Regions from separate parts of the Homo sapiens genome. Here region 2 is linked to region 1. The links are contacts of gene promoters, found by promoter capture Hi-C in blood cells and fetal thymus (Javierre and others, 2016). All regions are on one chromosome and are shown on one strand. Each heading gives the region's core, a stretch centred on a gene start or on the middle of the fragment in contact. The rest is flanking DNA. Distances are from core to core; before and after follow the strand shown.

The links. The method cuts DNA at HindIII sites, captures the fragments that hold promoters and counts their contacts. A CHiCAGO score of 5 or more calls a contact.
Region 2: a contact is called between a fragment that was not itself captured here and the fragment with the promoter of RUSF1 in region 1, in 1 of 17 cell types (M0 macrophages). The highest score is 5.0, in M0 macrophages.

What each region holds. Positions count from the first base shown.
Region 1 is chr16:31,504,922-31,510,832 of GRCh38, forward strand. It overlaps RUSF1 (RUS family member 1), which reads right to left and starts at 3,470. Exons shown (of 13, transcript NM_022744.4): 1 at 3,153-3,470; 2 at 2,843-2,957. The coding sequence starts at 3,452. RUSF1-DT (RUSF1 divergent transcript) reads left to right here and starts at 3,543. Exons shown (of 2, transcript NR_186401.1): 1 at 3,543-4,115; 2 at 4,252-4,645. RefSeq lists enhancers at 2,456-3,171, 3,172-3,886, 3,451-4,020 and silencers at 3,181-3,240, 3,301-3,350. The HindIII fragment of the contact is 29,640 bases long and covers 1-5,911 here.
Region 2 is chr16:31,836,779-31,842,689 of GRCh38, forward strand. No RefSeq gene overlaps it. Among named protein-coding and RNA genes, the nearest start is that of ZNF267, 34 kb to the right of the region's middle. The HindIII fragment of the contact is 2,976 bases long and covers 1,116-4,091 here.

The DNA of each region.
Region 1 (5,911 bases), core at 2,220-4,719:
CAGTATGCTTCATAAAAGTCATTGCCATTCTCCATTCTCGATTAACCAGGGGCACAATGCACTGTGGAAAGCCACAGGGACCTCTGCCCAAGAAAGCCTGGATACTGTCCAAGGCTTCCCCCTACTGAGACAGCCTGAGATGTGGCCTCGTGGGAAGGAAAAGACCTGACTGTTCCCCAGCCCGACACCTGTAAAGGGTCTGTGCTGAGGAGGATTAGGAGAGATATGCTGGCGGCAATGCTGCTCTGCTACTCTGCTACACTGAGATGTCTGGGTGGAGAGAAGCATAAGTCTGGCCTACGTGCACATCCGGGCACAGTACCTTCCCTTGAACTTATTTGTGACAGATTCCTTTGCTCGCATGTTTTCCTGCTGACCTTCTCCCCACTATCACCCTGTTCTCCTGCCGCATTCCCCTTGCCGAGATAGTGAAAATAGTAATCAATACTGAGGGAATTCAGAGACCAGTGCTGGTGCTGGTCCTCCGCATGCTGAGTGCCGGTCCCCTGGGCCCACTGTTCTTTCTCTATACTCTGTCTCTGTGTCTTATTTCTTTTCTCAGTCTCTCGTCCCACCTGATGAGAAATACCCACAGTGTGGAAGGGCTGGCCTCCTTCAGTTCTGAATCAAGGCAATCATGGTAACAGTGACAATGAAGAGGATACTGTTACCACTACAGAAAAAGTGCCTATAGACAGCACGGTGAGGATGTGGGAGGGGATTACTGTGGCACTAGAGCAGCATACATTCATAACGGAACAAGAAATCAGGCAGTTTATAGAATCCAAGAGAGACTTCTAAGATAGAAACCACAGTTAATGAGGCAAATGACTCTGGAGGAAACATTTTAAAAAGCCATCCAGCAGAACACTTCCTCATCCCTAGAGGACCCGCTTCCTGTCCTTCAACTGCTTCTAATGTTTCTTCTCACCTTAAAAAAATAAAATATGGTGTCCAGTAACCTTTTCACCAAAACAGCTGAAGACTGACAGCCTGCCGTTTTTGTTGCTGCTGCTATGGTTCAGAAGCTGATACAGGTGTTCTGGTGATCTGCTGTGCTGCTTAGTTACCCTGAACACACAATTTCTCACTGTATTAGTGGTATATCATGTTTTATACTGTTAAGTACTTCTGTGTGAATAGGTATAAGAAAATGACTGCTTCTTGGTAGCATATACATTCAGAGTCAGGAACGATGGGGACGCTAACCAACCAGATTGTCCACGTGTGGCTGAGACAGTGACATCTTTGCTTTCTGATGGATCAATGAACACAAACTTTGTTTCATGCACACCATTGAAAATACTGTATAAAACTGCCTTTAAGGTATGTGTATAAAGTATATATGAAACATAAACGAATTTCATGTTTAGACTTGAGTCTGATCCCCAACAAATCTCATTATATACATGAAGATATTCCAAAATCCAAAAAAAATTCCAAAATCCAAAACACTTCTGGTTGCAAGCATTTTGGATAAGGGATATTCAATCTGTATAGGCAACATGTTGGTGACATCACATGAAAACAAAAACTACTGACCCAAGCTCCAAATGCATTCCAAAAATACGGCCAACAAGCCGGGCGCAGTGGCTCACGCCTATAATCCCAGCACTTTGGGAAGCTGAGGCGAATGGATCACCCGAAGTCAGGAGTTCGAGACCAGCCTGGCCAACATGGTGAAACTCTGTCTCTACTAAAAATACAAAAAATTAGCGGGGCAGGGTGGCACATGCCTGTAATCCCAGCTACTTGGGAAGCTGAGGCAGGAGAATCGCTTGAACCCGGGAGGAGGAGGCTGCAGTGAGCTGAGATTGTGCCACTGCACTCCTGCATCCCAGCCTGGGTGACAGTGAGACTACGAGTCTGGAAAAAAAAAAATAGAGATGGGGGTCTCCCTATGTTGCCCAGGATGCCTCAGCCTCCCAAAGTACGAGGATTAAAGGCGTGAGCCACCGTGCCCGGCCCAGTTTTCTCAGTCTTAATGGTAAAGGTGTAAACAGGAAGCTCCTGTTTTCTCAAAAAAATCCAGAGAGGCTCACAAGGGATGTGGCCAGACTGATGCTACGAATGGAAAGCGCTTTTCCTTAGATCTATTAGGTTGGCTCAAATGTAATTGCGGGTTTTCCATTACCTTTAATGGCAATAACGACAAAGAAACCCCGCAATTACTTTTGCACCAGCCTAATAAATATCCCCTGCGAGCAGTAGTGAAAGACAAAGGACAGTGGCAAAAGCCATGGGGCCTCCTCGTGTAGAACATGTAACAATTTCCCTTTTCTGTTCTATTTCCCTCTCTGGGTGGCATGGTACCAAACTGTATTTTTTTTCCTTAAACAATTTTTTAAAAGCTGTACATATTCAGCAGATAGTCACTCTATTATTTACAGCATCATCTGGTATCCCAGAGCATACACAATACCTTCCATTCTTTCCAGGCTCTCCTCTCTCCTTCTCAGGACCAACTATATCTTTTTTTTCTGGAGCTCACCAATTTCCCCTATCCTGGGCAGCTGGCAGTTTTATTCCATCAATTGCATTCTTATGCAATCTTCCACAAAGAGAATAGGGATAAAGGGGAGGGGACGGGATTTGGGATCCAGATGATTGAGACTCAGAAGTCTGTGTGGGGAATGGAGTGCGGCTGCTAGGCTGGTGAGTGGGATGAGGGTCTTCCAGATGTGGGAAGTAAGACTGGGTTACAAAGCACCACTCTAATCACTGGGGAGACCTGCCTGAATTCTACCTAATGGGGCACGAGTCCATACATATATACACATAAGAGCCCAGCGAAAGCAGGGCTGAAAGCAGCAATACGTGAGGCTCCAGGGGTGCAGCTCACCTTTCACGAGCCAGGTGGCCGTGGCAGCTGAAACAGTGGCTTTTGCGTTCCCCACCCCTATGCCCAGCAAGACTGCCTGGGTGGCTAGGGAGCCGGAGAGGCTGGAAGCAAACGCCTGGAGAAGAAAACAAGTAGGGTGAGAAGCGGGCGTAGGAGCGTGGCGGTCTAAGTGCCTTCATCTGTTCTTGTTCTTGGTGTATGAGGCATGTCAGACCCCCCGCCCCCCGGGCTCCGAGTCTCAGTCACCCGTCCATTATTGGGGAGGGAGGAGTGGCCTGCACTGTCCTCTGCCCCAGACGACCGAGCTGACCTGCACGGAATCCCACAGCTGGTAGGGCAAGTAGTCCGGGCTGACGCTATCAGGGAAGCCCTGAGGCAGGAACACGGCCTGGAGCCCGGAGAGGGGCGGTGAGGGGGCCCCGGAAGCCCCCACTTCGCCCGCATCTCGTCCTTCAGGTTTGACCGTGAAGGCCCTGGAGAGCCCCCACCAGCGCCAGCCCCCGACCTCCCACTGCAGGCTCCCGTCCGCGGCGGCGCGGCAGCCCCGTGCCTCCCCGGAGCCGAACTGCTCGGAACACAGCGGGGTCTCCAAACCCGCGTCGTCAGCCATGCCGAGCTTTTGGATCCCAGCCCCGCCCCTGCCGCACGGTGGACGTGGCAGGCGGCACTTCCGGCTGGGCTACCGCGGCTGCAGAGGGACATCTTTCAAGAACAGGCGCCGGCCTCGGCGTCCGCCGCGCAGTTAGGAAACTGACTGTCGCTCTCTCCGGCCTCGGCGCTGCTTCGGACGCCCCGGCACCGGCCCCCGTTGCTTTGTAGCATTCTGCAGCTGGGCTGCAGGCGCCGTGGGCCTCCGCCAGTTGTGTTCGAGACGCGGTTCGGCCACAGAAGTTTTAGCTTGTGACTTTTGGCAAGTCAGTGGCCCTCTCTGGGCCTCAGGTGCCTTTTTTGCTGTGAGACCAGCGACTGTATTTTTAACCCTGATTTTATCCCTAGATCTACCCAACACATAGTAGGTGCTCAAAAGATATTTATGAGTGAATGAATGCATCATGAGAAGAAATTGGACCAGATGAGGCCCTGTGAAGCTGCTTGGGTCTTTTTTTGTTCTTTTTTTTTTCTCTCTTCTGAGTGTCCCTGGCCTGGACTAGAAATTCTCCATCCTTCGGCCTTCTGCGAGACTGCAGGAACATTACTTTTGAAGGATGCTAAGGAATCCGAGGGATGAAAAAAATCAAGAGATTGCAATGATGTCACAAAACAAGGAAACAAGGCAGGAAGTTCTTGTGTGTTTTTTTGCGGGAGAGAGTCCATGAAATTGGGGGGAGTCCAAAGAGGGAGTGTTTCTGTCCTTGGAACTCACCTTTTCTTCTTTCCATTTCTCCTCTTCTCCTTCCCATCTAGTGCAGCATCTTCACTCCGAAGCAGAAATTTGCCAAAAAAGCATCCTCTTTTTATCAGAAAATAAAATATCCTGGTTTCTTAGCCTGGCATTCTTGGATCCCCACAGTTTGATCCCAACCGACAACTCCTTATTTGAAACTTCAGATTCTCCCAAACCGTCACCTTCCTCGTGGACTTAATCCTGGAAGGCCCTTCTACCCCACTTCGCCTTATCTCACACAAACACAGTCTCTCTCTGACTGAGATAAACTTGAACACTTCTTTTCTTTTCTTTTTTTTTTTCTTTAAATTTCGGGTTTCAAAATACAAATGGCCTAATCACAACATTTCTGTAATGTTGTCTAAATTCAGGTACTGGTTTGAATAGAGGACAAAAATAAAACAAGGTTTGAAGACTAAGTACTTTAAAAACATATTTATTTAAATAGAGGCAGGGCCTCCCTATGTTGCCCAGGCTGCTCTCAAACTCCTGGCCTCAAAAGTGATCCTTGGGCTGGGCGTGGTGGCTCACGCCTGTAATTCCAGCACTTTGGGAAGTCGAGCCAGGTGGATCACTTGAGGTCAGGAGTTTAAGACCAGCCTGGCCAACATGTTGAAACCCCATCTCTACTAAAAATACAAAAATTAGCTGGGCGTGGGGGTGGTGTGGCCATAATCCCAGCTATCCGGGAGGCGGAGGCAAGAAAATCGCTTGAACCGTGCAGTTGTCATTAACTCCGTGTTTGTTATCTCTTTTTTACCAATGGTTTGCCAGTTTCTTCTACAAATACCTGTTGCTACCTATGTGCTCATTGGGATAGTGAGCAAAAACAAACAAGGGTCTTGGTCTTTTGGAACTTATATTAGGGAAGGATATTGATCAAATCATACAAATAAATGCAAAGTTGGAACTATTTCAATTGCTGTAGAGGGGTACATGTTATTTAATATGAGGACTTTTAGAAGGAGAATTGAGCTAATCAGTGGAATCAAGGGAAACTTTTTTTTTTGAGATGGAGTCTCCCTCTGTCACCCAGGCTGGAGTGCAGTGGCACAGTCTTGGCTTACTGCAACCTCCACCTCCTGGGTTCAAGTGATTCACCTGCCTCACCCTCCGGAGTAGCTGGGGTTACAAGCATTCACCACCACACCCAGCTAATTTTTGTATTTTTAGTAGAGACGGGGTTTTGCCATGTTGGCCAGGCTGGTCTTGAACTCCTGGCCTCAACTCATCTGCTTGCCTCGCCTCCCAAAGTGCTGGGATTACAGGCATGAGCCACTGTGCCCGGCCAAGGGAAATTTTTTAACAAAAATTTAAGTTGGGGTCTCTCTGTGTTGCCCAGGCCTCCCGCCTCGGTCTTCCAAAATGCTAGGATTATAGGCATGAGCCGTTGAGGCCAGCTGGGAAACTTTTTTTTTGAGGAAGTGTGTATTTAGCTGAGATCTAGAGTAAGAGTTAACTTGATTATGATGGGAAAATAATTTTCTGGAAAGAAGGAGCAGCATGTCCTGAGTGGGGAGGGAGCATGGTACCTAACATCCAACAAAGGCCGGTGCAGCAGAAGTCTAGAGCACGAGGGGCATGGGGAAAGGGCTGCTAGGGAGTTAGGGGCCAAACTGCAGGACATTGTAGGCCAAGCTCTTCTTCATCCTTAGGGTTAAGATTTATTTTTTATTCTATCAGTC
Region 2 (5,911 bases), core at 1,354-3,853, 330 kb after region 1:
GCCAGCCACCCCGTCCGGCCAGCCACCCCGTCCGGGAGGTGAGGGGCGCCTCTGCCCGGCCGCCCCTGCTGGGAGGTGAGGAGCCCCTCTGCCCGGCCACCACCCCGTCTGGGAGGTGTGCCCAACAGCTCATTGAGAGCGGGCCAGGATGACAATGGCGGCTTTGTGGAATGGAGGGGAGGGGGGGGGGGAAGGTGGGGAAAAGATTGAGGAATCGGATGGTTGCCGTGTCTGTGTAGAGGGAGGTGGACATGGGAGACTTTTCATTTTGTTCTGTACTAAGAAAAATTCTTCTGCCTTGGGATCCTGTTGATCTGTGACCTTACCCCCGACCCTGTGCTCTATGAAACATGTGCTGTGTCCACTCAGAGTTAAAAGGATTAAGGGCGGTGCAAGATGTGCTTTGTTAAACAGATGCTTGAAGGCAGCATGCTCATTAAGAGTCATCACCACTCCCTAATCTCAAGTACCCAGGGACACAAACGCTGCGGAAGGCTGCAGGGTCCTCTGCCTAGGAAAACCAGAGACCTTTGTTCACTTGTTTATCTGCTGACCTTCCCTCCACTATTGTCCTTTGACCCTGCCAAATCCCCCTCTGTGAGAAACACCCAAGAATGATCAATAAAAAAAAAATAAAAAACAAAGAATTAAAACTATAAAAATACTAGAAGAAAAACTGGGGAAAATTCTTCCAGACATTGATCTAAGCAAAGAATTCATGACTAACAGCTCAAAAGCACAGGCAAGGCTGGGTGTGGTGGCTCACAACTGTAATCCCAGCACTTTGGGAGGCTGAGGTGGGTGGATCACCTGAGGTCAGGAGTTCAAGACTAGCCTGGCCAACATGGCGAAACCCAGTCTCTACTAAAAATACAAAAATTAGCTGGGCATGGTGGCACTTGCCTGTAATCCCAGCTACGTGGGAGGGAATTGCTTGAACCTGGGAGGTGGAGGTTCCAGTGAGCCAAGATCATGCAGCTGCACTCCAGCCTCGGCGACAGAGTGAAACTCTGTCAAACAAACAAACAAACAAACAAACAAACAAAAAAAACCACACACAAAAAACCATAAGTAACAAAAAGAAAAACACACAAACTGAACTTAATTAAACTAAAAGCTTCTGCACTGCAAAATTATCAACAGAGTGAAGAGACAACTTGAATAATGGGAGGAAATACTTATGTTTCAGGGGACTAATATCCAGAATTTACAAGGAACTCAAACAATCCAACAAAAAAATAATAAATAGTCCTGTTTAAAAGTGGAAAAAGGCTGGGCATGGTGGCTCATGCCTGTAATCCTAGCACTTTGGGAGCCTGGGGCGGGTGGATCACCTGAGGTCAGGAGTTTGAGACCAGCCTGAACAACATGGAGAAACCCCGTCTCTATGAAAAATGCAAAAATTAGCCAGGCGTAGTGGCGCATGCCTATAATCCCAGCTACTCAGGAGGCTGAGGCAGGAGAATCGCCTGAATCTGGGAGGTGGTTGCAGTGAGCCAAGATTATGCCAATGTACTCCAGGCTGGGCAACAAGAGCAAAACTCTATCTCGGGGAAAAAAAAAAAGTGGAAAAAGGACATGAATAGACATTTTTCAAAAGAAGATATTCAGATGGCCAGCAGACATATGAAAAAATGCTTAACATTACTGATCATCAGAGAAATGCGAGTTAAAACCACAATGAGAAATCATCTTACACTAGCCAGAATAGCTATCATTAAAAAGACAAGCCGGGCATGGTGACTCAACGCCTGTAATCTCAGCACTTTCGGGGGCTGACGCAGGCAGATCACGAGGTCCGGAGATCGAGACCATCCTGGCTAACACGGTGAAACCCCGTCTCTAATAAAAATAAAAAAAATTAGCCAGGCATGGTGGCACGCACCTGTAGTCCCAACTACTCAGGAGGCTGAGGCAGAAGAATTGCTTGAACCTGGAAGGTGGAGGTTGCAGTGAGCTGAGATTGTGCCACTGCACTCCAGCCTGGGTGACAGAGTGAGACTCCATCTCAAAAAAAACAAAAAAAAAAAGACAAAAAATAACAGCTGTTGGTGAGGATATAGAGAAAAAAGAACCCTTACACACCGTTAGTGGGAATGTAAATTAGTACAACCTCTGTGGAAAACAGTATGGAGATTTCTCAAAGAACTAAAAATAGAACTACAATTCAATCCAGCAATCCCACTACCTCGTATCTACGTAAAAGAAAATAAATTGTTATATCAAAAAGATACCTGCCCTTATATGTTTATTGCAGCACTATTCACAATAGCAAAGATATGGAATCAACCTAAGTGGCCATCAATAGATGACTGGATAAAGAAAATGTCACACATACACACACCATGGAATACTACTCGTGGAAGACAAAAAATTAATAAAGAAATGGGAAACTTGAATAACACTATACACCAAATAAACTTAACAGACATATACAAAACTTTTCACCCAACAGCAGAAGAATATATATTCTTCTTAAGCATACATGCCACATTCTGCAGCACAGTCTGGCAAGAGACACCTCCACCAGGTGGGACAGGGAAGTGAACACTGGACCCTCCCTTGGACCCCAGCACCAGCCCTTTACCCGACCCCAGTGAAACCCAGCACCAAGAAGGCCCCCATGACCCCAAAGTCCAGGCTGGCATCAGCAGACTGAGCTGCCAGGTCCACCAAGGCACTGGGTTGGATTCTGCATCCTCAAGCTCCAGGCCTTCCTGGAAGGCTTGGTCTCCAGGCCAGCCCCACCACCAGGCCAGCCCCAGTGGCCATGGGCCTCAGGCCTGCCCTAGCACAGGCCAACCTCTACAAACCCAGGCTCTCTGCCTCTCCTCACATTCTCAGGCTCCAGGCTAGCCTCACAGACTGTCTCTGGGCCTTCCCCAGTATCAGGCCAGCCCCAATTGACCCAGACTTTGAGCCACTCCCAGCACTAGGCTTCAATCTGCCCCAGCACCAGGCTGGCTCCACAGCCCTACATCATCAGGCCAGTACCCATGGACCAGCCTCCCGGACTACTCCAGGGTCCAGCCAAGCCCAGAGCCAGGTTCACCCCTTCAGCCCCAGGCTTCAGCCTGCCCCAGCCCTAAGTTGGCACCCTGTCATCACGCACCAACCTGGCATCCATGGACACAGGCTCCAGGACTGCCTCCATGGCCCCATGACCCAGGCCACCCCTCGAAGACCTAGCCTCCAGGCCAGCACTGCATACCCAGCTTCCAGACTATCCCCTATGGACCAGGCTCCAGGCCAGTATCCACAATCCCAGGCTCCAGACACACCCCTGCAAACCCAGGCTCTATGCCTGCCCCAGCACCAGGCTAGCCTTAGGCTTCAGTCTAGTCCCACGAACTTCAGACTCCAGTGAACCCAGGATCCATGCTCACCCAAGTGAACTCCAGTTCCAGGTCAGTCACTGCAACCTGAGGCTCCAGGACTACCCCTGCAGACACAGGCTCCGGCTATCCCTGGTAGACCCAGGCCCCAGGACCCTGCAGACCTAGGGCCACCCCAGCACTAGACCAGCTCCTTTGTATTCAGGCTCCAGTCCTATCCCAGTTAATCCAGTTTCCAGATGGCTTCACTGAAGAATTCTACCAACATTTTAAAAACTAAACCTTCTCAAACTCTTCAAATAAATTAAAGAAGAAGGAATACTTTCAAATTCGTTTTATGAGGCTAGCATTACCCTGATGCCAAAGCCAGACAAGGATACTACAAGAAAAGAAAATTACAGGCCAATATCTCTGATGAACATAAATGCAAAAATCCTCAGCAAAATACTAGCAAACAAAATTCAACAGCACATTAAAAAGATTATTCACCATGATCACATGGAATTTGTCACAGAGATGCAAGGATGATTCAACACACACAAATCTATAAATGTAATACACACTACAGTAACAGAATGAAGGACAAAAACCATATGATCATCTCCATAGATGCATAAAAAGCATTTAACAAGGTTTAACATCCTTTATGATAAAAGCTCTCAACAAATTAGGTATAGAAGCAATGTACCTCAACACAATAAAAGTCATATATGACAAACCCATAGCTAATATCATACTTAATGGTGAAAAGTTAAAAGCTTTCCTTCTAGAAGCAGGAATGAAGAAAGAATGCTTACTCTTGCCACTTCCATTCAACATAGCACTGGAAGTTCTGGCCGGAGCAGTTAAGCAAGAGAAAGAGATAAACGGCATCCAAGTTAGAAAGGTAGAAGTGAAATTGTTGCTATTTGCAGATGACATGCTATTATACATAGAAAACCCTAAAGTCTCTACCAAAAAAACTGTTAGCTTTTTGAGATATATAATACCTTATTGTTGGCATCATACATCCTGTATGTTTCTACTACAAATAAATGATAAATGTGTGAGGCATGCTAGTTCATTTGATTTTATGAATAACACTGCATTCTACCCCGTAAGTAAGTACATTCATTATGTGTCCATTTAAGAAAGAATTTCAAGAAATCTGTCAGAACTAACAGGTAAATTCAGTAAAGCAGCAGGATACAAAATAAACATACAACAATCAGTAAAGTTCCACATTAACAATGAACTATCTCAGGGAAAAAAATCAGGAAAACTATCCCATTTATGATACTTAGCATTAAAAAAAATACTTAGAAACAAATATTACCCAGGAAGTGAAAGACTCATACATTGAAAACCATAAAACACTGATGAAAGAAATTAAAGAAGACACAAATAAATGGAAAGATATCCCATATTCATCATGGGTTGGAAGAATTAATATTGTTAAAATGTCTATGCCACCCAAAATGATCCACAGGCTCTATGCAATCCTTATCAAAACTCCAGTGACATGTTTTTTCACAGAAACAGAAAAAGCAATTCTAAATTTATATGGAGCCACAAAAGACCCTAAATAGTCAAGGCTATCTTGGGCAAAAAGAATAAAGTTGGAGGCCTCACACTACCTATTTCAAAATATACTACAAATCCATACTAATCAAAACAGTATTTTATAGGTATAAAAACAGACACATAGACCAATGAAACATAATAGATAGCCCAGAAATAAACCCACCCATTTATGGTCAATTGATTTTCAACACAGTTGCCAATAACGCACAGTGGGGAAAGAACAGTTTCTACAACAAATGCTGTCAGGAAAACTAGATATTCACATGCAGAAGAATGAAATTTCACTTTTTTTCACACCATCTGCAAAAATAAATTCAAAGTCGATCAAAGAGTTAAATGTAAGAACTAAAACTGTAAAACCACTAGAAGAAAACAAAGTAGAAAAGCTCCATGACATTGGTCTAAGCAATGGTTTTTTGGATATGAGCCTAAAAGCCCAAGCAAGAAAAGCAAAAATCAACAAATGGGATTACACCAAACTGTTTCTACATAGCAATGGCAACAATCAAAAGAGTGAAGAGACAACCTACGGAATAGGAGAAAATATTTGACAACGATACATCTGATGAGGGGATAATATCTACAATATGTAAGGAACTCAACAGCAGGCAAACAAATGACCCAGTTAAAGAATGGGCAAAGTATGGCTGGGCACGGTGATCCCAGGTGGCTCAAACCTGTAATCCCAGCACTTTGGGAGTCTGAGGTGGGCAGATCAGGAGTTCGATACCAGCCTGGCCAACATGGTGACACCCCGGCTCTACTAAAAATACAAAAATTAGCCAGGCATTGTGGTGGGCACCTATAGTCCCAGCTACTCAGAAGGCTGAGCAGGAGAAATGCTTGAACCTGGGAGGCGGAGGTTGCAGTGAGTCAAGATTTTGCCACTGTGCTCCAGCCTGGGTGGCAAAGCGAGACTCCATCTAAAAAAAAAAAAAAAAAAAAAGAATGGACAAAGTACGAGAAAAGGCATTTCTCAAAAGAATATATACAAGGGGAAAGGGAGATAGATA